7 separate regions of the Homo sapiens genome follow, and all the other regions are linked to region 5. The links are contacts of gene promoters, found by promoter capture Hi-C in blood cells and fetal thymus (Javierre and others, 2016). All regions are on one chromosome and are shown on one strand. The core of a region is centred on a gene start or on the middle of the fragment in contact, and the rest is flanking DNA. Distances in the headings are between cores, read along the strand shown.

What was found. The method cuts DNA at HindIII sites, captures the fragments that hold promoters and counts their contacts. A CHiCAGO score of 5 or more calls a contact.
Region 1: the fragment with the promoter of GAPDHS here is called in contact with the fragment with the promoter of FXYD3 in region 5 in 2 of 17 cell types (naive CD4 T cells and monocytes); the score reaches 5.8 in naive CD4 T cells.
Region 2: a fragment that was not itself captured here is called in contact with the fragment with the promoter of FXYD3 in region 5 in 8 of 17 cell types (total B cells, naive B cells, total CD8 T cells and 5 more); the score reaches 9.9 in total B cells.
Region 3: a fragment that was not itself captured here is called in contact with the fragment with the promoter of FXYD3 in region 5 in 4 of 17 cell types (total B cells, naive B cells, naive CD8 T cells and 1 more); the score reaches 7.7 in total B cells.
Region 4: a contact is called between a fragment that was not itself captured here and the fragment with the promoter of FXYD3 in region 5, in 1 of 17 cell types (total B cells). The highest score is 5.3, in total B cells.
Region 6: a contact is called between a fragment that was not itself captured here and the fragment with the promoter of FXYD3 in region 5, in 5 of 17 cell types (naive CD8 T cells, total B cells, total CD8 T cells and 2 more). The highest score is 8.0, in naive CD8 T cells.
Region 7: a fragment that was not itself captured here is called in contact with the fragment with the promoter of FXYD3 in region 5 in 5 of 17 cell types (naive B cells, total B cells, total CD4 T cells and 2 more); the score reaches 11.0 in naive B cells.

The regions. Positions count from the first base shown.
Region 1 is chr19:35,530,908-35,534,922 of GRCh38, forward strand. It overlaps GAPDHS (glyceraldehyde-3-phosphate dehydrogenase, spermatogenic), which reads left to right and starts at 2,549. Exons shown (of 11, transcript NM_014364.5): 1 at 2,549-2,687. The coding sequence starts at 2,621. RefSeq lists an enhancer at 3,406-3,535. The HindIII fragment of the contact is 5,250 bases long and covers 1-4,015 here.
Region 2 is chr19:35,484,834-35,488,596 of GRCh38, forward strand. It overlaps KRTDAP (keratinocyte differentiation associated protein), which reads right to left. Exons shown (of 6, transcript NM_207392.3): 4 at 3,608-3,652; 5 at 2,879-2,926; 6 at 2,491-2,633. The coding sequence ends at 2,595. Among named protein-coding and RNA genes, the nearest start is that of KRTDAP, 3.7 kb to the right of the region's middle. The HindIII fragment of the contact is 2,590 bases long and covers 856-3,445 here.
Region 3 is chr19:35,554,182-35,557,803 of GRCh38, forward strand. ATP4A (ATPase H+/K+ transporting subunit alpha) reads right to left here. Exons shown (of 22, transcript NM_000704.3): 11 at 3,474-3,622; 12 at 2,732-2,907; 13 at 1,495-1,631; 14 at 1,259-1,409; 15 at 985-1,153; 16 at 741-895. Among named protein-coding and RNA genes, the nearest start is that of ATP4A, 7.7 kb to the right of the region's middle. The HindIII fragment of the contact is 254 bases long and covers 1,876-2,129 here.
Region 4 is chr19:35,429,158-35,432,871 of GRCh38, forward strand. LOC101927522 (a long non-coding RNA gene) reads right to left here. Exons shown (of 7, transcript NR_187751.1): 3 at 3,702-3,714; 4 at 507-678. Among named protein-coding and RNA genes, the nearest start is that of FFAR2, 17 kb to the right of the region's middle. The HindIII fragment of the contact is 1,119 bases long and covers 1,115-2,233 here.
Region 5 is chr19:35,113,656-35,117,430 of GRCh38, forward strand. It overlaps FXYD3 (FXYD domain containing ion transport regulator 3), which reads left to right and starts at 2,168. Exons shown (of 9, transcript NM_005971.4): 1 at 2,168-2,304; 2 at 2,609-2,704. LOC124904701 (hepatitis A virus cellular receptor 1-like) reads left to right here. Exons shown (of 3, transcript XR_007067238.1): 3 at 1-14. The HindIII fragment of the contact is 1,620 bases long and covers 1,176-2,795 here.
Region 6 is chr19:35,591,047-35,594,583 of GRCh38, forward strand. No RefSeq gene overlaps it. Among named protein-coding and RNA genes, the nearest start is that of LINC01766, 5.1 kb to the right of the region's middle. The HindIII fragment of the contact is 9,877 bases long and covers 1-3,537 here.
Region 7 is chr19:35,444,797-35,448,365 of GRCh38, forward strand. It overlaps FFAR2 (free fatty acid receptor 2), which reads left to right and starts at 3,461. Exons shown (of 2, transcript NM_001370087.1): 1 at 3,461-3,569. RefSeq lists an enhancer at 1,418-1,497. The HindIII fragment of the contact is 2,407 bases long and covers 1,117-3,523 here.

The DNA.
Region 1 (4,015 bases), core at 1,299-3,798, 420 kb after region 5:
AGCTAGGATTACAGATGCATGCCACTACACCTGGCTAATTTTTGTATTTTTAGTAGAGATGGAGTTTCACCATGTTGGCCAGGCTGGTCTCAAACTCCTGACCTCAGGTGGTCTACCTGCCTCGGCCTCCCAAAGTGCTGGGATTACATGTGTGAGCCACTGCACCCAGCCAAAATCAGCCCCTTTTGAATCCTGGTTTTGTTGAGGTTATATTTTTCACCTCCTTGATTGTACACCAAAATGTAGCTCCCTTTGTTTAATTAATCATCTGTGTTTTGGTCTCGGTTCGTTAAAACCTCCTCACCTGTACACTTAGTTTACTTTCTTCTCCCAGGCCATCAAAGCAGGAGAGCCTCACCCTGCCCTGGTCCCATGGCAGGTGCTTGGCAAATGAATTTCTCATGGATGTTGGCGGAAGGAAGAGGTTATGTCATTCTGCCCCTTCTTGCATCCATCCCTCTCTGGGATGGTGACTCCTTCCTGGCACAAACCCCCACTCCCCCTGAACCTTGGTCACAGCTGCGTGTCAACCTGCTGTGCAGGTGATGGTGCCTGCCTGTGAGTCACTGAGGTGCAAGCAAACCCCTACCCCGGGGCTGCAGGGGAGGGAGCTGTTTGTCCACTTGTTCTTTGTCAGACGTTCATTGAAAACCTGCTTTGTATTGTTCTAAGTGCTGGAGGCACAGTCGTGAACAAACAAACAAGAACAGGAGCCCTGTGAGGGGCTTAGAGCCCAAGGGGGAGACATCGAACAAATAAACCAATCAGTAGATCATGACAAACTACATGAAAAGCTACAAGGAAAAGAATGGGTGCTGCGAGAAGATATAACGTGAAGAGTTTGATAAGATTGGCGATCAGGGCCGGGCGAGGTGGTTCACGCCTGTAATCCCACCACTTTGGGAGGCCGAGGCAGATGGATCACCTGAGGTCAGGAGTTTGAGATCAGCCTGGCCAACATGGTGAAACCCCGTCTCTACTAAAAATACAAAAACAAAAAAAAAATTAGCTAGGTGTAGTGGCGCACGCCTGTAGTCCCAGCTACTCAGGAGGCTGAGGCGGGAGAATCACTTGAACCCAGGAGGCGGAGGTTGCGGTGAGCTGAGATCGCACCATTGCACTCCAGCCTAGGCAACAAGAGCGAAACTCTGTCTCAAAAAAAAGAAAAGAAAAGAAAAGATTAGCGATCAGATGAAACCTGAGGAATTGACATTTATTCATTCAGGTATAGTTTATTGGGCTAACGCCTTTTTCAGACAGGGTCTTGCTCTGTCTCCCAGCTGGAGTGCAGTGACACAATCACAGCTCACTGCAGCCTTGACCTCCTAGGCTCAAGTGATCCTCCCACCTCAGCCTCCCTAATAATTGGGACAACAGGCATGCACCACCACACCTGGCTACTTTTTTTATTTTTTGTAGATACAGGGTTTTGCCACATTGCCCATGTTGGTCTCAAACTCCTGGACTCAAATGATCCTCCCACCTCAGCCTCCCAAAGTGTTGGGATTACAGGCATGAGCCACTGCGTCCAGCCCACAAACACCTTTCAGGTGCCAAACACTTTTCTTGTCAATGGGATACAGAAGTGACATAGATGACGTCCCTGTCCTCTCAGAGCTTACAGTCTGGTGGACAGAGACAGTTGGCAAGAAAACAAACAATTTTTAGAGAGACATGTGCTCTAAGGAAAATAAAAACATAGACAGTGTAGCCCTAGAGAAATTTTGCACACTGAAGCATAACTCAGAATGGAGAAGTCAGACAAGGCTTCCTGGAAGATGGGCAGAAATTGGGAAGGGGGTGACGGCTGACAGTGACAGAGAAAGGAGGGAACTTAGATGCAGAGTGTAGAAAGCCTCTCTTAAAGGGTGGGAAACCAAGAGGCAGCCAAGGGAAGCCCTGGGTGGGCCTTCCAGGCATACGGAGGCAGCAAGAGTCACTCCACTGGAGAATCCAAGGGACAGCATGGAACCTGTGTGCTTCAAGAGACAGAGAAGAGGAAAGGGCTTTCAGGAACAGTGTAAAAGGTGGGATTCCAGGCTGGGTGTGGTGGCTCGCTCCTGTAATCCCAGCATTTTGGAAGGCCGAGGTGGGAGGATCGCTTGAGCCCAAGGGTTCTAGACCAGCCTGAGCAAAAGAGTGAGACCCTCTCTCTACAAAAAAATAAAAAGTAAAAATAGCCTGCAGTGGTGGCTGCACATGTAGTCCCAGCTACTCAGGAGGCCGAGGCGGGAGGATCGCTTGAGCCCAGGAGTTCAAGGCTGCAGTGAGCCATGATTGCACCACTGCACTCCAGCCTAGGAGAAAGAGTGACACCCCGTCTCAAAATAAATAAACAAATGATAATTTTAAAAAGTGGGATTCCATTCCAGACGGCAGTGCGTGGCCGTGGAACGGTGATGCATAGCGTGCTGACGTCCCATGCCTCTACGGGGATGGGATGCGATGGTGTCAGGCCTCTGGCTTGGGCGCCGCCCCTCGGCGACGTCACTGGGTACTGTGACGTCACTGGGTGCTGTGACATCAGGGCAATTAGCCCAGGACCCACAGCCCTGGCGCTCCGCACGCACCTCGGTAACATCACAGCAGGTCCAGGCCAATGATAACCTTATAAGAGGCCATGTCGAAGCGCGACATCGTCCTCACCAATGTCACCGTTGTCCAGTTGCTGCGACAGCCGTGCCCGGGTGAGGGAGGCAGCGGAGGGCGCGGGGGAGGGGTGGAAAGGGTAGTGGGGAGCGTCTGCACCCTCACACCTGTGCCGTATCCCTACCGCCCTTCCTGGCGTGTGCACCATCTAGGGACCAGGGGATCAGCCGCTCTCCCTCCCTCCACACCCGCCAGTGTGCTGGCAGAGTGGGGTTTACTGCCATGGCGGGGAGACCGGGCCTCCGCCCCCAGGGCTGGGTGGGCTTCGCGCCGCTATCACGCGGTAGAAAGAGCAGAAACGAGGGCCATCGGAGGCTGCAGCCTGAAAGTGGCGGGAAGTGGGCGGGCTTAGGAGGGGCTTAGGGAGAACCCAGGGGTGCTGGGCTTCCATGTAAAAGTGATGTTCATGGCGCTTCGCGTGAGGTGAGCTTTGCCCTCCCTGTGATGCACAAAACAAGGACACTTGGAACCTTGCCGGGGACGTGCTGACCACTTCGCAGGCGAGAGCTCAGGGAAGCCTCACCACCACCTGAGAAGGCCAGAGTGTGCCCGCAGTTTACAGAGCGGCCAACAGAGGTTAAGAGAGGGCAAACTACTTCCTTAGTCTCTCAACAAGGGCGGCGCGCCCGCGCGCGCGCACACACACACACACACACTCACTCACTCACTCTAGCCGGAGGAACCAGGTCTTCCGGTGGGCTGCCTCCATTCCCACACTGTTCCCTCACTTCCCAAGGGCGGGGGCCGCAGGGGTAGGTGGGGCTGGGGCTTTGGTCCAGGAGACCCTGGAAGACACAGGAGCAGACAGGCTTACCAGCCTCATGAGACTTGAACCCCTGCCCTGCGCATCACTGCTCCGTGGCCTCAGGCTTCATTTTCCCCTCTGTAAAGTGGGTTTATAGCGCATGCCTCTCGGGATTCAGTGGGAGGACGCAGTGAGGAGCTGGGGGCAGCACCCAGCTAGCCCCCAGGCTTTTCTCCAACCGGGGGACCCCACCCCTACAGTGGAGGGGAAGAGAGTGCAAGGCTGGGAGTGCTGGGAGAGGAGGACCATCTGAGTTTTCTTCGGAAGGGTCACCCATTGGGCTCAGATTCCCACCTGAACCAGGTGGACAAATCCCCTTTCTCCCATAGCAGAAACAACCCCCAAGGATGCAAACATCCTCAAGTTCACCAATAAACACTAACACCTTCATGAACTTGGACAGCCACTGGAAACACCTATAGTCCAGCCTCAGGCCACAAGGTCTGTGGCAACAGGGAGAGGTCAGGGAGACAGACAGGCCAGCTGGCCCCCGGCTCCCAGCCCCACCACCCCCCAGGTGCCTTTGATTTGGTGCCAAAAACTTGGACTCCCACTACCCCC
Region 2 (3,763 bases), core at 901-3,400, 370 kb after region 5:
TGCCAGCGTGGGGACCACACTTTGAGAACTACCGCCTTATCTCAGAGATACTCTTAACTTGTGTATCGTGACTCCTAGTCCCCTGGGGATGCTTTACTCCTCCCCTAAAACCTAGTCACTCGATGGGTGTCCCTTAAGCACCTCCCCTCTTCTTCCTGTACTCCATTTCCTATCACCTAGTTTGTGAGTGCACAATCTTCACTAAGTATTTCAACTGATTGTGGCATTTCACCAGTGTCCATAGTTTTCTTCTCTGTTGGTTATTCCATTTATAGCTTTCCTCTCCTTTGTGTGTATTGGAAGGAAGAGCATAAGCAACTTTTTTTTTTTTTTTGACAGAGTCTTGCTCTCTCACCGAGGCTGGAGTGTAGTGGTACAATTTTGGCTCACTGCAACCTCCGCCTTCCGGATTCAAGCGATTCTCGTGCCTCAGCCTCCTGAGTAGCTGGGATTACAGACATGCATCACCACACCCGGCTCAGTTTTGTATTTTTAGTAGAGATGGGGTTTCACCATGTTGGCTAGGCTGGTCTCGAACTCCTGACCTCATGTGATCCGCCCACCTAATTTTGTGTTTTTAGTAGAGATGGGGTTTTGCCATGTTACCCAGGCTGGTCTCAAACTCCTGACCTCAAGGGATACACCCACCTTGGCCTCCCAAAGTGCTGGGATTACAGGTGTGAGCCACCGTGCCCGGCCAGGAACATTTACATGTCTCATTCACCTGGTCTGTAAGCGCCTTGAAAGTAGGAACCAAGTTTAATTTCCCTTGTAGTCCACTTCCTCGATTAAACTGCAGTTGATGGTTTACAAACGCAGTTGCTTATAAAGGCCAAAGGCAATGTAAACAAGTGAAGCTTGCCAAGTAGAAAGTTCCCTGGAAGCCATGTCCTGTGTAAAGAGGGCAGCTGCTACTTGGCTTTAAGCCAGTCGCAGGTCCACTGTTCTCTAATCTTCCCAGTTTTCAAGAGAAACCAGAAACAATTCCAACTAGTTTAGTATTTTAAGTACACAAATTGGGTCAGAGAAAATACATCTACAGGAAGCAAAACTAAATCCATTTCATGTTTCAAGATCTTTGCAGTGGATGGATGGATGGATGGATGGATGGATGGATGGATGGATGGATGGATGGATGGGTGGGTGGATGGGTGGATGGGTGGGTGGATGGCTGGGTGGATGGATGGATGCGCGAGTGAATGAGTGAATCTGGATCATTGCGGCTGCTCTCTGGTTGAAACTGGGGGAGTAGAGATACACTATCTACTATATGCCTGGCCGTGTGCAAGGGGCTTTATATACTTATGTCATTTGACCTTCATAACAACACCACAGAGTGGTTATCATTCTTATTTATCTCCATACTCATTTCACGGATAAAGAAACAGAGGCTTAGGAAGACTCAAGGTCACGCTGCTAGTTTTCTTTATTTAGAGCCCACCTAATTCCAAAAAAAAAAAGGATTTCAGATGGGCTCATGTGATTGAAGCTGGGTCCTGAACTTTGGATTTCAGATAGCTCTGTTACACAAAATCGCCACTACAAAGGGAATCAGGTTTTCAGAAGGTAGGTAAGGGGGAATGCCAACAGGTCAGGGAGTAGGTTTGATTTGTGAAAGGAAAATAAAAACTTGGGACCCCAATTCACTCTGTCGAAAGGAAAAAAGATAAGCCGAAAGCTGAGACATGCCAGAAGCTGCCTTTCCTTTTGTTCCTAAACAGATAGCTACAGGTAAAAGGTTAACTATCTCAACAGATAGCTATTCTATGTTCACCATATCTTATGTAAACTGCTGGATTTACTGAGCATGAGACAAATATATAATGGACTATTCCCCTACCTGCTCCTTTTCTCTTATAACATGTGGATTCAGTGATGTGACCATTCCCTCCCTCTTTCCCCGCTTTTCCCCTTTAAATACTGAAGCTCTCAAAATCATCTTTGGAGAAAGGCACAGACCACAGACTGTTCCTCTGATTCTGTATTTTTTTCTCCCCGGCATTGTCCTTAACCTTGGCAAAATAAACTTCTCAATTGATTGAGACCTGTCTCAGATACTTTTTGGGTTACAAATTGGCAACCCGTGAATGGCCTCTGAATGGAGGTGGCCCTGACCTCTGACAAATCTATCGTTGCTTGGTACTGGTTTGAGCTGTCTTTATTGCTCAAACCAACAGGACAGTTTTCTGGGTCCAGGAGCTCCCCCTTAAGAGAATGAGACCTGTCTCAGATACCTTTTGGTTTAGAGATTCCCTGAGCATCTTACTAAGCAAGTCATAGCTTCATGCTCCTCAAGGATCCCAGCCAACACTAAGGAGCTAAGACACAAGGGGGTCTCTTGCCATCTTGGTGTGTCCTTTCTATTTCCTCCTGTCTCCCTACTTACTCTCCTCTTGGAAGTCAAGATTTCTACCTATCAGCCTTGGGGCTCATTCCATCTTAATTCCTTTGTAAAGCCCAGTAGGAGGACAGAGACGCAGATACAGGAGCTGTTGGATGGAAAATGTTTTATTGGAGTTCCTGAGGCAGGAAAGAGTTATGGTAGGTTGAGAATCAGCGCTCACGCTAGCCCCCTCTTCCAGTGGAGGTCATGGTCACTGGGCATCAGGAGTTGCGCTCCTCAGTCCTTTCAGCTAGAGGGAGAGGGGTCAGGGTTAGATGGGGAACCCGTGGGTGCCCAGTATAGGATGGCATGGATGGAAAGGAATTTCTGCCTCGGTGTGAGTTCCCGTTCTCCTCTATATGTAGTAGCTAAGACCTCCCTTCAGTTTGGTGAGAAGGCTGATCCTCCTTTCCCTGTCCCCACTCTCTCTCCCATATCTTCTGCTTCTTCCCTTACCCCCAAGCTCCATACCCTCCTAATGCCCACACCTCTTACCTTAGGAAAGGCATCCCAGTTGAGGAAAGGAAGTTTCCTTTTGATAGACTAAAAGAAAGAAAGAGAAAGAGAGTGATGTGTTGCAGGTCAGCCGGGCATGGATGGGTAAGCATTCCCTTAATGAACTCCCACAGTAACCATAGTAACAATAATGTCATTATTTTGTCATTACTTTATCAAGAGCTAATATTTCCTGAGGCCTTAGTCTGTGTCTGCCTTGCACGGGCTGCTCTACAAGCATGATTTCAGTGGGTTTTTACAGCAACCTTTTGTGGTGGGAATTGTCATCATCCCCACATCACAGAGGAAGCGGAGGCCGAGGGAGCTGAAGGCGTTCGCATGAGGCCATGTGAGAAGTCAGTGCAGAGTCAGGAGACGCGGGCCCCAGCTCTGTCGCTGACTTTGCCTTCTAAGTGCGGGTGGGCCTCAGTTTTTCCATAGAGGATGAGGGGATTCAAATAAAATCTTGACCGATTAGCCTCTTCCTCTTCTGCAATTGTCCTTGGGGCCCTGCTCCTCCACCACCATCTTAGGAAAACACGGGTAGCCAGGACTGGCGCCGGGGGAAGCTTTCTTCCGTTGACAGCCCATTGGGCAGCATCCAGGCAGGACAGTCACTCCCTCCCAGAGATCAGGAACCAACCCATACATTTAAAGCCAAAATGTGTGGCCACTACCCTGGGATGACTGCAGACAACCGAGGAGGGCAAGGGGCGCCGGAGCACTCACCTCAAAGAGGGCGTGCCAGTTCAGGAACTCATCAGCCTTAAACGCCTGAGGAGGAAGAGAGACAGCAGAAGCAGGTCAGCTCCAGGGGAGGCCAGAGCTTAGCCCCCAGCCCTCTGGAGAAGGTGAAGGAACCGTGGCAGCTTTGCAAGCTCTCTA
Region 3 (3,622 bases), core at 753-3,252, 440 kb after region 5:
TTCAGTCTCTCAGTGTCGCCGTGCCCCTTCATCTGCTTGTGCCTAGAGTGGCAGCAGAGCATACTGACCACGACCACAGGCTGTGGGACCTGTGACTGCTCAAGCTCAAGTCACAGCCGGGCCACTTATTTGCCCAGTGACCTGGGACAATCCACTCTACCTGTCTATGCCTTGATGAGCTCATCAGTAAAGTACGGGTGATAGTAACAAAACTCATCTCATAGTGTGGTTATGAGTACAAAATTAAGGAAATGATGGTGTGTCTGGCCCAGAGAAAGCACTGTGTAAATGTTACCGAATAAATACCTGTCAACACAGCTGCGCCTCTGGCTGCATTCGTGACTGTATCTGTGGTTCTTTTCTGTCTGTCTGCCATGGGGTCTATCTGAGGGGGTTTATTTGTCCGTGTCTGTTTAGGGGCACGTGTCTGTGATTCAAGTTTGGCCAGATACCTGTTCTGTTTCCATCTCTGTCTGAGTATCTGTATCTGAGTCATGTGTGTGCATGGGTCGGCCCGGGCCTACCTGAGTGTCCGCCTGTGTGTGCATGGCTGTATGTCCATTTAGGTCTGTTCACCTGCCTGCCACCCATGTGTCCTGCACTGGCTGTCATTGCACACACAGGTCTTGTCTGTCACTCTGTGCCCAAGAGTGTCTGTGGTGGTCTCTGTCCCTCCTGTCCATCTGCAAGCAAGTGTCTCTGGGCACCCTGTGGATGGGTACCCTGGGCTGTGGACTTACAATGTCAGTGCAGAGTTCGATGAAGAGGATGGTGATGCACCCGAGGGGCAGGGGCACGCTGACGGTGATGTAGATGAGGTAGGGTGTCAGCTCTGGGATGTTCTTGGTCAATGTGTAGGCAATAGACTTCTTCAGGTTGTCGAAGATCAGTCGACCTGTGGGGTAGGGTGGGCACCTCAGCCTCCTCACAGCCCTCTCCCTCCTGTGCCCACACTGCCTGCCCTCCCCCTGGCGTGGCTCGGACCCTGCTCCACGCCTGTCACAATGGAGGCAAAGTTGTCATCCAGCAGGATCATGTCAGCTGCATTTTTGGCAGCATCTGAGCCAGCGATGCCCATGGCTACTCCGATGTCTGCCTTCTTCAGAGCTGGGGAGTCATTCACACCATCCCCCGTGACGGCCACAATCGCACCCTGCAGGCAGTGGGTGCAGGTGGTGGGTGGGTGGTCAGTGAGAGGCCGGTCCAAGACCAGCCCCGCCTGTCTGCCCGCCTGCCCACCCTCATCAGCAGGGCTCACCAGCCGCTGGCAGCTCTCCACGATCACCAGCTTCTGCTGGGGGCTGGTGCGCGCAAACACCATCTCGGGGTGGGTGCGCAGGGCCTCGACCAGTTCCGATGGGTCCATGTCCTTCAGCTGCATGCCATTGATCACACAGGCACGGGCATCCCTGGGGAGGAGATGGGAGGACCTCGCTGGGACCTCGGTCTGTGCCAGATGTGGGGAGAACCCCGGGGAGGTCTGGGGGGGCTTACTTGCGATTAACCTGGTCTACGGGCACACGGAGGCGGGCAGCGATGTCCTCCACTGTCTCGCTGCCTTCCGAGATGATGCCCACACTGGCTGCAATGGCCTTGGCGGTGATGGGGTGGTCACCCGTTACCATGATCACCTGTAGGGGGAACCAGTGGATCACTGACCCCTTCAGATCAGCCCAATCTCCCTGTCCTCCCTGGGAGACATCTGCTGATACACGTGTTCATTTACTTGACCAAGCGTGACCACCTCCTACGTGCCTGGGATATAGCAGAGACAAAAGAGACAAAAATCCCTGTCCTTGAGGAGCTCTAGTGAGGGTGACAGAAAATAAAGAAACGAATTATATAGTGTGTTAGAAAGTGGAAAAAAACATATTAAGCTTGGTGAAGGAAACGGTGACTCGATTTTAAGTGTACCCAGGGAAGGGCTTATTGAGAAGGTGATATCTGAGCAGAGACCTGTAAGAGGTGAGAGAGTCAGCCACGTGGAAAGCTGGGAGAAGAGTGCTCCTGGCAGGGAGAACAGCAGGTGCAAAGGCCCTGAGGTGAGGACAGGCCCGAACTGTCGGAGGAACAGCAGGGAGGACACCATAACTGCAGAGGAGTGAACAAGGAAAGAGGGCTAACGAACAAGCTTAGAAAGGTAACAAGGCCCGATGTAACAGGGCCGTAGAGACACGGGAAGGGCTTGGGCATTGCCTGCCTGGCCTTGGCTTTCCCACCCTTGTTTTGTGTTTGGGGAACCACTCCTCTCCCCTACACCATCAGTTGCAGTGAGGTCCCTGGCTAAGATTGGGTAAGTAAGCCCAGACCTGGCCAATCAAGGTCTTCCATCCCCCAGCCCCAGTGACTGGCTCAGGGATAAATGAGTGACCCAATCCAGTGCTACTGCAAAAGAGGCACTCTCTTTTTGTGGGGTGGCTAAGCAGGTGGGAGTTAAGTTTGAGCTGCTGGAGCAGGGGTGTGTGTGTCCCCAAGTGAAGGGAGTGCCTGCAAATAAAGCCAGCAAAGAGAACAGCAGAGCTGAGACATGGAGAAAGGAAAATTCCTAATGACACTGAGCTCCTGGATCTGGCTAGACCTGAAGCTTAATTCCCCAGAATTTTTCAGTATCATAAACCAATGCATTTTGGTTCAAGCCAGTTTCAGGTGGGTTTGTCATGGGGTTCTTCAACCCAAATCCTGCTGCCATCCTCTGTCCTCACTCCACTTGTTCCTCCCCACAGTGGCATACCCGGATGCCTGCGGTGCGACACTTGAGCACAGCATCAGGGACGGTGGCCCGGGGTGGGTCAATCATGGATACAAGTCCCGCAAAGCAGAGGCCGCTAGATGGAAAGTTCATGGCCTCTACGTCGAAGGCATAGCCAGGCGGGTAGTCCTTCTCATTCAGGTAGAGCTGGCAGAAGCCTGACCGGAAACGGGGAAGTCAGGGAAGAGCCCTGGGCACACCCTTTCTTAGCAGGGCCAGGAAATGGGTAAAATAACCAGGCCCCTTGCACCAAACACCTATGGATGCCTGACCTTGTGCTGACCCCTTCACTCACATTATCTGAATCTACCCTCACAACCACCCTGTGAGGCCCATTCTCATCTTACAGATGAGGAAACTGAGGCTCAGAGAGGGGACATTTCTTGCCAGAGGTCACACAGCAAGTAAAAGGCCCAGAATTGGACCACAGATCTGCTTTCTAGGGTAGAGGCAGCGAAGTTTAAGGCGTCAGGACAAAAATTGGGAGAGGTTAGAGGTCAGGATACGGATAAAAGTCCAGGTGAGGACTGGGGTCAAGGTAGAAAGTGAGGACAGACAGGGGTCAGGACTGGTACAGGGAAAGTCAAGGGTGAGGCTGTGGACTGCGACAAATCAGCCAGCAGCCAGGGATGAGGACGGTCAGGGCTGGGCCGGGAGTGGTGGGCAGGGTCTGTGCTAGCTCCTCCTCGCACCTGGAGTCTCCTCCCCTGCCCAGGGGTCTCACCGAGCACGCGTTCGCCCAGGCCTCCCAGGCTGAGGTAGGCGGTCTGGAAGGCCTCGCGCCACTGCTCGTCCAGCGGCAGCTCCTGGCCCTTGATAAGGATGGAGCTGCAGCGCTCCAGCACGCGCTCGGGGGCGCCCTTCATCACCAGC
Region 4 (3,714 bases), core at 424-2,923, 320 kb after region 5:
GGTGACACAGCCAACAAGTAGCCGCCAGGACTGCAGCCCACAGGGCCAGCTCCAGATTCCACGCTTTTAACCCCTGAAATCATGAGTTTAATGGCTTAGCTACAGGTTAAGTCACTTGCCAGGGAACCCAGAGCTAGCAATGGGATGGGAACTGAGATGTGAATCCCAGTAGTCTAACCTCAAAACCTGCGTGTTTAGCTCCTACATGCGTTCCCACATGGGTTATGGACAGCTCTACTAATGGAAGAGGGCGCTGGACTGGGGTGGAATTGTGAAAGAACTAGCGACGTGGAGAGAGGCTTGAAGCTCAGCCTAAATAAATGTTGGGGACAGCCCCCACTGACAGCTGGACTTGGCCCGCCATCTTCCCTTCTTGGTACCTCTCAATCTTTCGTAAAAATAAACCAAAAGCTGACGTTCACCACTTCATGCCATGCAAACAACTGTTTTTGGTTTTGTTCTTCAAATATAAAATAACATGAAACATGCTTTGTCAATGTACTTACCCCCATCCCATCCCACACTCTCTCTTCCCAAATACCCGCATCACCCTCCACTCTTCAGAGATACTAGACGGGGTGGCTCAGCAGGGCTGGGAACAAACACTGGCCAATGTAAAGGCTTCTGAATACTCCGCAGCACTGGAGAGTCTGTCTTCAGCACGATCCCCTGTTAACCCTAGGAAAGATGTGCACGTGACAGGGGCGGGGTGCGTCATGGAAGCCTGACGTTCCTCATGCCAGATCAGACGGGAAGGCTGTAAAAGGGGGAAGGTGAGGCCAGCTGGCAGAAAGCAGGAGGAACGCAGCCTTGCTCCAGGTTCGTACTCCCATACCTGAAACGCCTCCTCCTTCTCCCGCCTACCCAGGCTGAACACCTGGAGAGGGGCAGGGTAGGAATGCCCCCTAGGTGACCAGAGTGGAGAGGAGGACACTGAAGGGGTCTAAGGATCACGAGACCGCGTGTGGCTTGACTTATTCGCCAAGTGGAGATTCCTCGATCATCCTCAGAGCCTGTGGTCCCTTCCATCTAGTCAAGAATGGGCAGGAGGCCAGGCGAGACAAAACTCAAGGGGAAAGCCGTACTCATTTTTATCAACATCTCCTTGCCAGGAAGCTTGTGGTATTCACTCAAATCCAGGACATGATAAACATTTACAGAAAATAATAAAAGCAGATGATGTGAGGACAGTCAAGAGACGCAAAGTACACTTATGCTCCCCCTCCTCATCTAGAAAGTGGGTCTGCATGGAGTGTAACAGCAGAATCTGACATAGCTGACTCCACCCTGCTTCTAACCTCACAAGCTAATGGTCTTTGTCATTCCTGCACATCAGCCAAGCTAATCATGGGAAGAATTTAGTTTACAGTTTAACTTTAAAGCAAGGATGACAATAATCCCTTCCCAACACTCACCCCCAAGGAGATAAGGAGGGTGTACACACTAGCAGCTACATCATATTAAAGATTTATAGGAACATTGTGACCTCAGCAGGACAAAGAAGTTGCACAGTGCCCCTCCTCGGACACTCACTGCCACCCAGATGTCCGCTATCATCGGTCACCTCTTGATCTTAAACCTCACTCTCTTCCCCCTTCCCTAATGTAAAAGGAGCCCAAAATTCTATTACTTAAGATTGTTCTCAAGACACTAGGTCTGCTATCTCCTCAGTCTGCTGGCTCTCTGAAATAATGTCATTTTTCCTTCCCCCAATATCTCGTCTCTTGATTTATTGGCTGTTGTGCAGAGATTGGTATGAGCTTTGGATTCAACTGCAGGAGGACGGTGAAGCCAGAAGAGATAGAGAGAGAGAGAGAAAGAGAAATGAGCAGCTGCTGAATCATGAGGGCTTCCCTAATGGCAGGGAAAGAAGAAAGTTTTGACAGACAGTGGGGCAAGACACTTGCACAAAACAGGAAGCCAGAGGAATCCTTAAAACCCACACATCATACAAAAATAAAGAAAGAAAATAAAACATGATAAAAGAAATGAAACCCATACATCAGATCACTTACTCCTCTGCCTTATACCCTTCAAGAGTTTCCTATGACTTTGGGAATAAAATCCAAATCCTCACCTTGGACAACAGGGCCCTGCACCATGTGTTTTCCCTCCACCCCCTCCACCCCCAGCTGTCACGTCTCTGACCTGGTTTCCCATCACTTCCCTCATGCTCATTCCCACCCCACCCCCCCAGCCACACTGGCCTCCTTTCGGTTTCTCCATCACACCAAGCTTCGTATCGCCTCAGGGCCTTTGCAAAAAATGTCCCATCTGCCCCGAGTGTTCCTCTCCCAGCTCTTCCATGGAGAGCACCTACAGGCCTCGGCTCAAATGTCACCCCTTCAAGGACATTTCCCTGCTGCCCCCAGCACAGATTACCCTATTCTATCATCCAATTCTATTTCCTTCCGAAAGCGTGCCCCACATTACCTCCTATATTACTGTAGAGACTGTACTAGTGTCTCACCCCTCCCCACAACTACAATGTCAATTTCATGAAGGCAAGAACCATGTCTGCCTTTAAAAAAAAAAAAAATCAGGGTCTCACTCTGTCCCACAGGCTAGAGTGCAGTGGCACAATCTAGGCTCACTGCAGCTTTGATCTCCTGGGCTCAAGTGATCCTCTGACCTCAGCTTCCTGAGTAGCTGGAACTAAAGGCATGCACTACCACATCTGGCTAATTTTTGTATTTTTTTGTAGAGATCAGGTGTCACCATGTTACCCAGGCTGGTCTTGAACTCCTGAGCTCAAGCAATCCACCTGCCTTGGTCTCCCACCAAGTGCTGGGATCATAGGCATGAGCCAACACACCCAGCCACAATGCCTGTCTTGTGATGCTCTATCCCCAACCATCCATGGAGAGATGAAAATGCATGATCTGGTTGTTACCTTGCACTCAGCTGCCTAATCCAAGAGACATGCAGGTGACTTTGAGAAGGCTGGGGCTGTCCTGGGCCCACAGAATTCAGACAGAAGACACTGGGGAAAGGAGAGGAGGTGGGACAGGGACCAGACACAGAGCACTGGAAAGGAGAGGATGTGCAGGAGCAAGAGCTGAGCCGGATTTTCCAGACGGCGGCAGACTCTGGGGGGCTGCCTGGACTTGGGGCATTTTTTCTGGGCTGGCCCTGGACTTAGAGAATATTTTTGTGATTTAGCGGCCCCAATTTTTGTGAAATGTCCTCTGCTGACTGAGAGATTAACCTGCTTTGACTGGGCCATGCTAAAAAATGAACAGGAATTTGATATAGTCCAGTGTGGAGGTGGAGAGGGAGGGAGGTGAAGAAAGAACAGAAGGAAGGGGTAAGACACACTGAGGAGCAGATGGAAGTTACCTGAGGGGATCCTCCAAAGAAGAAAGGGTGGGCTATGCAAACAGTGGATGTAAAAAGACGCCTGGAAGAAGTTAGGACTTGGATTTCTAGGAGAGATTAATTCGACTTGTAGGAGCAGGGATTTGGGGAGAGGCAGAGGGCTCTGCTGCCTCTGAAAGAGCTCACCGAGTGCGCTCCCTCTCTCTGACTAAGGACCCCTGTGGATAAGAAAGCTCTCTGCCCTAGAGAAGAAGAGCAGTCAAGGTGCTTACAGGCTCTTTCCCGAAGACTGAAGACCTTTCCCAGGGTGGACTGTGGTGCCCTTCCCTGTGCAGGCACCCTGACCACTGTGTGTTCAGAGAAGAGGGATGTGGCACACACACCTGAGAAGCACTG
Region 5 (3,775 bases), core at 918-3,417:
GGGATGGTATAACATGCTCTGGCTTTGATTCTGTGCTTTAATTCAGCGTTCCTGAAAAACTTATGATGTCAGAAACTATCTGTAGGTTTGGTTTTTTTCATTTTGCAAGAATTCCCAGGATATGGAGAAATCACAGCCACTCACAGCCTTAACAGGTTCTTTGGGCCCAAATGATTCCAAAAGCAAAACGAGAGAAACTTTTTCAAATATGTTTATTATGTATATTATATACAATATATTAATAAAACATATTACCTACATGCATTTAAAACATAACTGAAGTCAGATTGGCCCAGAAGACTCACTCCAAATGAGACCTAATCCCCAATAGGGTGCAAGTGACTGCACAAACTCTACTCCTCACAGCCCTTCCTAAGACTCAGTGTGCTCATCACACTAGGGTCTCAGAGTCCTTCTGACCATAAACCCAAGCCCCAGCGCCAGCCCAACACACACTTGGACGCAGCATGTTCACGTCCAGCCTAGGAAGAATTTATGGTTGACCTGGATTGGGTAAAAACCGTAAACGTCTGTACCTCAGAATGTAAGATCATGGTGTTTAAAACTACAGAACATTCAGAGGTTGTCAGAAGTCTCTAATTGCTGGTCCCCCAGGTTGAAACCAGCCCTTAGGTTGAAATTTTGACCTGCAAATTTTTTTTTAAATCTGAACCAAATTTTTTAAATTAAACCCCTTTAAGGTAGTACATTTTCAAGATGCAAAATTCAAAAAATATAAGAGGGCACGTGATAATGAGTGAGTCTCACTTCCACCCCACCCTCCAGCCTCCCAGTTTCCCTCTCCAGAAGCCATGGGTATGGATGCCAATCTCCAAAAATATTTTATTCATTACAAGTATATACATATGCATTATTTTACCGCTCACAAATGGTAGCACACTGCACGGTTTCCCAATACCTTGTTTTTTTTCCCCTTAGCAAGCTGTCTGGGAAATACTTCTGTATCTAACCACGGGCAGGGGTGTTCCTCCAAGATTTTTAGACAACAGTTCTCCAGTTCACCCCGTTCCGGTGAAGGGCAGAGCACCCCCCGCCCTTCCCAGCCACCCTGTACACGCCCCTACTCGCTCTCGGATGCCTGCAGTTCCCAGGCTTCCCAGCAGAGGGAGACACCATTCCACTCCCAAGACCACCAAGGGGTCGTCCCAGACACAAGCTTCAAGGGTCTAGGGAAGAGACGCTATCCGCCCAGACACAAAGACCCCCCTTAGCTATACTGAGTTGGCCTCCGGGCCTCCCCTTCCTGTTTCTATCTCCTCCTGGACCTGTTGCTTAGAGCCCTACCCCGAGGTCCCCCCGCCCGGCTTCCTTATGGGAACTGGCCCCGCCTTAAGAGTGGTAGGAGGGAGCCTTACCCTTGTCTAGGACCTGGGCTTGACAACTTGCCCCAGGGAACCACATAGAGAAGGGGTGTAGCGCTGGGCGAACATTGCCCTCCCCGATCCCTCAGCGATGACAAGTGGGGGGTCCTTCTCTCTGCCCCCAGCAGGCCAGTTTCCGGAAGAGCCTTGACCCAAACCCCCTTTTCCTGTCCTGTGCTCCACACTCCCAGCAGCTGCTTCTCCCTGGCCAGGCCCTGCAGCCCTCCTCCCCGCCCCCACGGTGGTGTTGGGGTCGCCTGGAGTCCAGCTGGTGTCCAGGGCAGAGCTACCCCTTTCCTGGCCCTACCCCTCCCCGTGACCCCAATCCTCCGCCAACCGCTCAAAGGATCCTTGTTCTCCATCCAGCCCCCAGACAAAAGTCCCTCTGTCTAAGAAGGCGGAATTGAGGGGAGGGGGCACCCCCAACTGGGACCATGGGGGAGCCTGCACAGACCCCATCCGGAAGGAATGCCTGGAGGAGGAGGAGCAGGAGACAGGGGAGGAAAGGGGGAGGGAGGCTTGTACAGTGCTGGGGGCCTTATGTGGACTAGGAGGCAGCCGCCCCCACCAGCACCCACTCTGTAGACCCAGGCGTCTGGCTCCCAGCACCCACGGAAAGAGCCTGGCTAGGAAACTGCAGCCTGGTGCCTGGCAGACAGTTCTCATTCTCCCCAGGGCAGGGAGCAGGTTATGACCAGGACTAAGGTCCCAGAGTCCCCACCCTGACCCCTCCCTGCTGTTCCAGCCGCTCCCTCATATCCACCCCTGCCCCATCTCCTGACTTTGGTCACGCTAGCATCTTCTGCTGATCCTGAAATTGTACCAGCGGCAAGATGTGGCCTGGAAGGGGACTTTAAGTTCTCCACAACTGCCAGCAATCCTTCCACCAGGCAAAACACATCATCTAAGGAAAAGAAGTGAGGTCGGAACACCAACGCATCATCTCACTGCATGGCCCTGGAGGCTCTGCCGTTTAAAGACCCCAGAACCTTCCCCATTCAAGGTCCTCTCCTGGGCACAGGAGATTGGAGAAAGCTCCTCCCTTAATTCCAGGGGCCGAGTTCCAGCCCATCCAATTCTCCGTCTCACCTGAGGCTGCTGTGGTCCTGGTGACCCCAGGGAGCAACCTGCCGCCCATGGCTGGGGAGGGGGTGAAGCTGTCTCTTTAAGAGCAGGAATGGAGCCCCTGGGCCTCAGGGCATCTGACTTGTTTTCTACCTGCCCAGGTTTGCTTAGGGCGTGGCAGCTTCGGATAAACGCAGGACTCCGCCTGGCAGCCCGATTTCTCCCGGAACCTCTGCTCAGCCTGGTGAACCACACAGGTGAGCAGCTGGGGCCCCTTCCTCCAAGCCCTCCTTGTCTCTGCCCCTAAATTAGGAAGTATCTACCTGCCCCCTGACCCTGCCCCATAGAAGCTTTTATGTTAAAGCGCCTAAAATCTTGTGAAATGCTTTTCTGGAGCCAGGAGATAAACGGAAGTCCCTTCCCCTAATGTCCCTTTCCCCACCATTCTCCTCTCAGGGACTTGTTGAACCAGCTGAGGTGAGGGCAGGACTGATAAGTGTGGTTGGGGTGTCTGAAAGACTAGTGTCTGCATGGATTAGGGATATCTGGGTTGGGGATAGCTGGGTGGAGGAGAGGGGGTGCCTGGGTAGGTAGGGGTATCTAAGTGGACCAGGGGTGCGTAGATGGACTGGGGACATCTGGGTGGATGAGGAATGCTGGGTGGACTCGGGGTGTCCAGACATTGAGGGATCTGGGTGGATAAGGAGTGCTGGGTGGACTCGGGGTGTCCAGACATTGAGGGATCTGGATTCTGGAGACCTCCAGGAAAAAAGGATGGAGCTGCTGGGGGAAGCTTTAAATGGGGAGTTGCTTGGGAGATTTCAGGAGCACACAGCGGGCAGGATCTTTCTACCCACCCCTGAACATGAGACCATTCTCCCATGGTATGGAGGAATAGAGGGGATAGCAGAGGGCAGGTGGGGGAAACAGTCCTCAGGCCGGCCTTGGGACCTCATGGCCAGGAAGGATGAGAGCAGGTAGACAGAGCATCAGCTGCAGGGCTGCCTTCCTCTCTAACCTGCTCACCAACCACATCAGTTCGGGAGCAGCCCACAGCCTCTTCAGACAACAGCCTGAATGGGGAACGTGAGGGCAGACCCAGCTCCCGGCTCCCTGCAGCCTCCGGAAGCATGGGACTGGACGTTGTTTTGCAGAGGCTGGGGCGAGGAGGATACCATCTGTCAGTCTTGGCTGGATGACATCATGGGAAGGGGGTATAGTGGGGCCTTGCAGGCCAGAGGTGGCTTGGAGGAGCCCCTGGAAAGAGGCTTAAGAGGTGAGACTCAACAGCCATGGCGACAGAGCATAGGGCTTTAAGATGAATTTGC
Region 6 (3,537 bases), core at 1,020-3,519, 480 kb after region 5:
GGTACCTGTATTCTCAGCTACTCAGGAGGCTGAGATGGGAGGATAACTTGAACCCAGGAGTTAGAGGCAGCAGTGAGCCATGATCACACCCTTGTACTCCAGCCTGGGCAACACAGCGAGACCCTGTCTCAAAAAAAATTTGTGTTGAATCATATTAAATACTTTTCAGCATCTATTAACATGATCATACGAGATTTTAATTCAATCCTTTAACAAAGTTATTCACAATGAACCATTCTTATACTCTTGGGAAAACCTTACTGGGTCACAATCTATTATTCTTTTTTTTTTTTTTTAGAGACAGAGTCTTGCTCTGTCGCCCAGACTGGAGTGCAGTGGCACGATCTTGGCTCACTGTAAGCTCCGCCTCCCAGGTTCACGCCATTCTCCTGCCTCAGCCTCCCGAGTAGCTGGGACTACAGGCGCCCACCACCACACCCGGCTAATTTTTTGTATTTTTAGCAGAGACGGGGTTTCATCGTGTTAGCCAGATGGTCTTGATCTCCTGACCTCGTGATCCGCCCGCCTCAGCCTCCCAAAGTGCTGGGATTATAGGCGTGAGCCACCATGCCCGGCCTCTATTATTCTTTTAATATGTGATGGATATGGTTTGCTTATGCCTTATTTGGGTCCTACATAGTTTTCATCTGGGGGCTGTTCTCAGTCCTTTGCATTGGGGCAGTGCTGGCAATGCAGAATGGGTTGAGAAGCATTCAATGTGTTTCTGTGTTCTGGAAACATTTCTATGTCATGGGAATTAGCTGCTTCTTAAAGATTGGAGTGGGCCGGACATGGTGCCTCATGCCTGTAATCCTAGTACTTTGGGAGGCTGAGGCGGGTGGATCACCTGAGGTCAGGAGTTCGAGACCAGCCTGGCCAATATGGTGAAACCCCCATCTCTACTAATAATACAAAAATTAGCTGGGCATGGTGGCACACAACTGTAATCCCAGCTGCTCGGGAGGCTGAGGCAGGAGAATCACTTGAACCCGGGAAGCGGAGGTTGCAGTAAGCCAAGATCACGCCATTGCACTGCAGCCTGGGTGACAAGAGCGAAACTCCATCTCCAAAAAAAAAAAAAAAAGTTGGAGTGAACATGCCTGCAAAATCTTCTGGGCCTGTAATCTTTTTCGTGTAGCAGATTTTGAGTACTTTGTCTTCACTATGATGGTGAAAGCAGCAACTCTCGGAGTCAAGTACAAGCCACTGTTATGAGCAGCTTCGGAGTATTGATTCTTTTGGTCTCCACACTAACCCTATAGCCTGCATTCTTACAGACTGAGGATAAAGCACAGGGAGCTGGAAAGACACAGTGCAGGTCTCACAGCGAATTCACTGAGGGGCCAGGATTGGGAACCAGGAAATCTGCCACCAAAAGCCGTGTTCTTAAGCACTAGGTGGACAACACTGCCTCCCATCGACCGTTAGTAGCAATTCAATCTTTTTACCTGCTGGAGTCACTTGTTAATCACTTACCTTTCTCTTAACAAATCATTTTTATTTTCGACATAGAAGCTAACTTGAAGGAGCGCCCACTGGCCCAGAGTGGTACAACTTAAACATCAAAAATATTAATAACGGCCAGGCGCGGTGGCTCACTCCTGTAATCCCAGGACTTTGGGAGGCTGAGGCAGGTAAATCAATTGAGGTCAGGAGTTCGAGACCAGCCCGGCCAACATGGTGAAACCTCGTCTCTACTAAAAATATAAAAATTAGCCAGCCGTGGTGACAGTCACCTGTAATCCCAGCTACTCGGGAGGCTGATGCAGGAGAATCGCTTAGAGCTCGGGAGTCGGAGGTTGTAGTGAGCCGAGATGGCGCCATTGCACTCCAGCCTGGGCAACAAGAGCAAAACTCCGTCTCAAATAATAATAATAATAATAATAGTAATAACAATAATAGATTTAAACACACCAAATATATATCATATTTAATGATGAAGGATGGAATACTTTCCCTATAAGATCAACAACAAGGAAAGGATGTCTGCTCTTGACACTCCTATTTGACATAGTGCTGGAAGTTCTAGTCACTGCAAGAAAAAAACGCAAACAGGGCCCGGCGCAGTGGCTGACGTCTGTAATCCTAACACTTTGGGAGGCAGGAGGATCACTTGAGACTAGGATGTCAAGACCAGCCTAGGCAACACAGCATGACCCCATCTCTACAAAAAATATTAAAAAATTAGCCAAGCATGGTGGCACATGCCTGTAGTCCTACCTGCTCAGGGGGCTGAGGCAGGGAGATCACTTGAGCCCAGGACTTTGAGACTGCAGTGAGCTATGATCACACCAACACTGCACTCCAGCCTGAGGAATAGAGTGAGACTCTGTCTCAAAAAAGAAAAAAAGGCATTTAGATTGGAAAGGAAGAAATAAAACTGTATCTGCAGGTGACATGAGATATGTGTGTGTGTGTGTGTCTGTGTGTGTAGTTGATGCAAAAATAATTGCGGTTTTTGCCATTGAAAGGAATGACTGCTGGGCATGGTGGCTCACGCCTGTAATCCCAGCACTTTGGGAGGGTTTTTTTTTTTTTTTTTTTTTTTGAGATGGAGTCTCACTCTGTCACCCAAGCTGGAGTGCAGTGGTGTGGTCTCGGCTCACTGCCAGCTCCGCCTCCCGGGTTCACGCCATTCTCCTGTCTCAGCCTCCCGAGTAGCCGGGACTACAGGCACCCGCCACCACGCCCAGCTAAATTTTTGTATTTTTAGTAGAGACGGGGTTTCACCTTGTTAGCCAGGATGGGCTCGATCTCCTGACCTCGGGATCTGCCCTCCTCAACCTCCCAAAGTGCTGGGATTACAGGCATGAGCCACCGTGCCTGGCGTTTTTCTTTTCGTTTTTTTTTTTTCTTTTTTTTTTTTTTTTGGAGATAGAGTCTCACTCTGTCACCCAGGCTGGAGTGCAGTGGTGTGATCTTGGCTCACTGCAACTTCCACCTCCTGGGTTCAAGCGATTCTCCTGCCTCAGTCTCCCTAGTAGCTGGGATTACAGGCGCCCACCACCATGCCCAGCTAATTTTTGTATTTTTAGTAGAGACGGGGTCTCACCATGTTGGCCAGGCTGGTCTTGAACTCCTGACCTTAGGTGATCCACCTACCTCAGCCTCTCAAAGTGCTGGGATTACAGGCGTGAGCCACAGCCCTGGACGGATGTATTTTCAATACATGTCTTTATAATGCATGTGAAAGCTAACGCATACATGGGAGACAATGAAGGGACCAATATGGTGGAAGTTTTCCATATTCCACTTGAAGTTGCAAAATATTCAATCTAGGTAGACTATAGAATGTTTAAGTGTGTTTACCATAATCCGTAGAGCAATCACTTAAAACTTGCAAAGATATATAGTGAAAATCACAATAAATAAATTAAAATGGAGTACTAAAATAGTATTTGAATAATCCAAAAGAAAGAAGGAAAAGGGAAAACAAGGAACAAAACACAGAAAAGTGGAAATAAAAAACAAATAATAGTAGACCTAAAGCAAAACATACCAATAATCATATTTAAGGCACATGATCTAAACACACAA
Region 7 (3,569 bases), core at 1,070-3,569, 330 kb after region 5:
GTTGGAATGGGTAACAAGAAATAAAGACATACCAGGCAGGGGCTGGTTCAAGCTCCCCATGGCAGATGGAAAACATGACACATTCACAGAAGTGGAAAATGGCCCTGCCCAGACAGCAAAGAGAGAGAAGAGTGATGTGAGTGGAAGCTGGCAAGGGCCATGCTAGGCAGGCCTTTTTAAGGATGTTGATATTTCTCCTAAAAGCAGTGAGAAGTCTCTGAAAGGACAAGAAGGTCGTATAATTGGATTGACATTTTTAAAATGATTCCACTAATACAGTATGGAGAACTGACTGCCAGGGAAGCAGATGGATGAGAGGAAGTGAGTCAGGGCCCTGCTGAAATCCTGGTAGGGATGATGGCACTGAGATGGGATGATGGAGATGGAGACGGATGGATGGATTCATATTTGGAATCCATAAGTATTTGGGGAGTACATCAGACTGCATTCTAGGGATAAGGAAGAAGATAATATTGAGATTCACTTTAAGACTGACTCTAGTCAGGCTCAGTGGCTCACGCCTATAATCCCAGCACTTTGGGAGGCCAAGGCGGGCGAATCACTTGAGGTCAGGAGTTCGAGACCAGCCTGACCAACATGGTGAAACCCCGTTTCTACTAAAAATACAAAAATTAGCCGAGTGTGGTGGCACATGCCTGTAATCCCAGCTACTCGGGAGGCTGAGGCATGAGAATTGCTTGAATCTGGGAGGCAGAGGTGGCAGTGAGCCGAGACTATGTGCCACTGCACTCCAGCCTGGGCGACAGAGTGAGATTCAGTCTCGAAATTAAAAAGAAAAAAAAAAAAGACTGACTCTAAGATAATGGTGCAGGAGATGTGATGGGAAGAGATCTTACGCCCCAAGACAGGGAAGGGTGGAAGAAGGAAGATCTGAGGCCAGGTCTGGACACATTTGATTTGGTTGATTTGGGACACCTGTGAGACACCCAATGGCAGTGTCAACTAGGCAGTTGAGCGTGTACATGTGAAGCTCACAGAAACCTAGGGTGAAGATTCAAACCAGGGGTGTCATGAAGGTGGTAACTGGAACTACGGAAACAGTTGCAGTCGACTAGAAGGAGAGCACAGGCGAGAACAGGAAAGAACCTGGAGCCAAGCTTGAAGGAAGTCACCATTTCGGGGATGAGTAGGGGAATGGTGAGCTAGCAAAGGGGTACGAGAAGTGACCAAAGGAAAGAGAGGGAAGCTAGCAGCGTAACGTATCAGAATTTGTGAAAAGAGGATGTTTCCAGAAGGGCGTGGAAATTGTGTTGAATGCTAATAAAATAAGAAAAGCGTAAGTCCACTGAATTTAGGAACATGGAGGTCACTGCTAACATCGGGAAGAGAAAATCCCATGGAAAATAGGCACAGAACCCAGATTAGGGTGGACTGAGGGGCGAGTGAGAATTAAGAATGTGGAAGTGATTACACAGAACTTTAGATAAGGGTCCAACTTCCTGTGATGACAGGCTGCATTATAAAGACGATGAGAGAAAACTGAACTTGGAAGGAACTGTGAAGGATATTGCTCTTGTGAAAGTTTACCCCCTTGAACTCGGTCTGAGAGGTTGGGTTTCCTTTTCCTGTGACGTAGGTGGACATCATGAACTGTGAGACTGAAAGCCTCCTTGGTGATGCTCCCTTCATAACTGCGGTGAACATTCATAACTGCTGTGAACCCAGAGAGGGGGTTTCGTTGGGGCGTCTTCCACAGGGGGACTCACGACAGTGACGGCGAAAGGCAGGAGGTGGGGGGAGAAGAACGTGCAGAGACAGAGAGGCAGTCCCACTCCTCAACACTTGTTTTCCAATGAGTTTCCTGGATTCTGCAATTAAATCCAGATCCTCGTGCATGTTTATAGGAAATCATAAAAGCGAAATGACACAAATAAATTTGGTGGCAACAAGAGAGAATGGTCTCTTTCTTAGTTCTCCTGTTGATCTGAGAAGCGACGTGTGCTGGGGGAAGGAAATAAAGAACTAGAACGCCTTCAGAGGAGAGTAGAGTGGACGAGAAAGAAAAGCTAAATATCAAAATGTCTAGACCCTGGGGTTACAGACCACAAAAAGAATAAATGACTGACTGACTGAATGACTGAATGAATGGCAAACAATAGGAAGTAGGTATGTCCTAGGGAAAGAATGGGGATTCTGTGAGCAGGAATCAGGCCACAGATGGCAGAACAGAGACTTCTTTCTGAGACTTCCTCCCTAGTTCAAGAGGAAAACACGTTCCAACGATCCTTGCTGCATTAGGTGTGTATTTCAAAGGGACCTTCAGGAGCTCCTAACCTGGGGCTACCAAGGTCAGAGAGGGGGAAACAGTGAGACTTTATCAGGGAAAGGAATGGAGCCTGAGTGCCACTCCCTGACGAAAAGCCACATGGGCACGTGAACTCGGGCCTCCTGAATTCCTGACACTTTCCCAAGAGGGACAGCACATCCATGCCCTGAGCCTCTGGAGGCTGCACCAAGTGGCTCACTCTCTGTGAAGCTGCGTTACAGGCTTGAGACGAGGCAGCACTTACGGGCATCTGCTAAGTGCTTTATATACACAACCTCACTGAATCCTCGCAGAAGTCCTAGGATGTCAGAATTCGCATGCTCACTTGACTACAGCAAACTAGACTTCAGAAAACGGATCTGCCCCCAAGGTTGTAATGAAGGGACCTGGATTTGAGCCCATATCTGCATGACTATAACTCCCACACCATTTCCATCACAACAAGATGCAGGCCAGGACCAGCCTGTTTCAGCTGAGACGGGCAAAAGAAATGTGTTGGGGGCAGAGGGCAGGAGACCATAGAGAAAGTAAAAAAATTGAAGAAGAAAAGGAAGGAGTGCCGGGTGCAGTGGCTCACGCCTGTAATCGCAGCACTTTGGGAGGCCAAGGCAGGCGGATCACTTGAGGTCAGGAGTGCAAGACCAGCCAACATGGTGAAACCCTGTCTCTACTAAAAATACAGAAATTAGCTGGGCGTGGTGGCAGGTGCCTGTCATCCCAGGGAGGCTGACGCAGGAGAATCGCTTGGACTCGGGAGGCAGAGGTTGCAGTGAGCTGAGATGGCGCCACTGCACTCCAGCCTAGACAACAGAGCAAGATTCAGCCTCGAAAAAAAAAACCAAAAAAAAAGAGGAAAAATAAAAAGGAAGGAGGAAAGCTCATTTCTGAGAATGAGCAGAATGACAGAAGAAACTGCCTAAGAAAGAGAAAAGAAAATAATCTGACTTGGGAAGTAAAAAAAGAAAAATGCCTGGGAATTTTTTTTTTAAATCAGGAATTAAGGACAGAAAAATCTGAATTTGGAAGTCAAGAGTGAGGATTCTCTAGGGAGAGAATAAAGATGCTGGGCCTTTCCTTTGGGTTTGAGAGGAAATAGTGCTTAAAGACTGACCTTCCTTTCTCTGGTCACGTGGCTGGTGCTAGTATAAATGCTTACTACCAGCCAGGTTCCTCACCATTTTTTCCTGCATGGCATGGACAGAAGCAGGGGCTAAAGCTCTGTTCCTCTCTCCTGGAAGCTTGCAGACCTCCCTTCAGAACCAATCCCAAGAAGCCACCTATC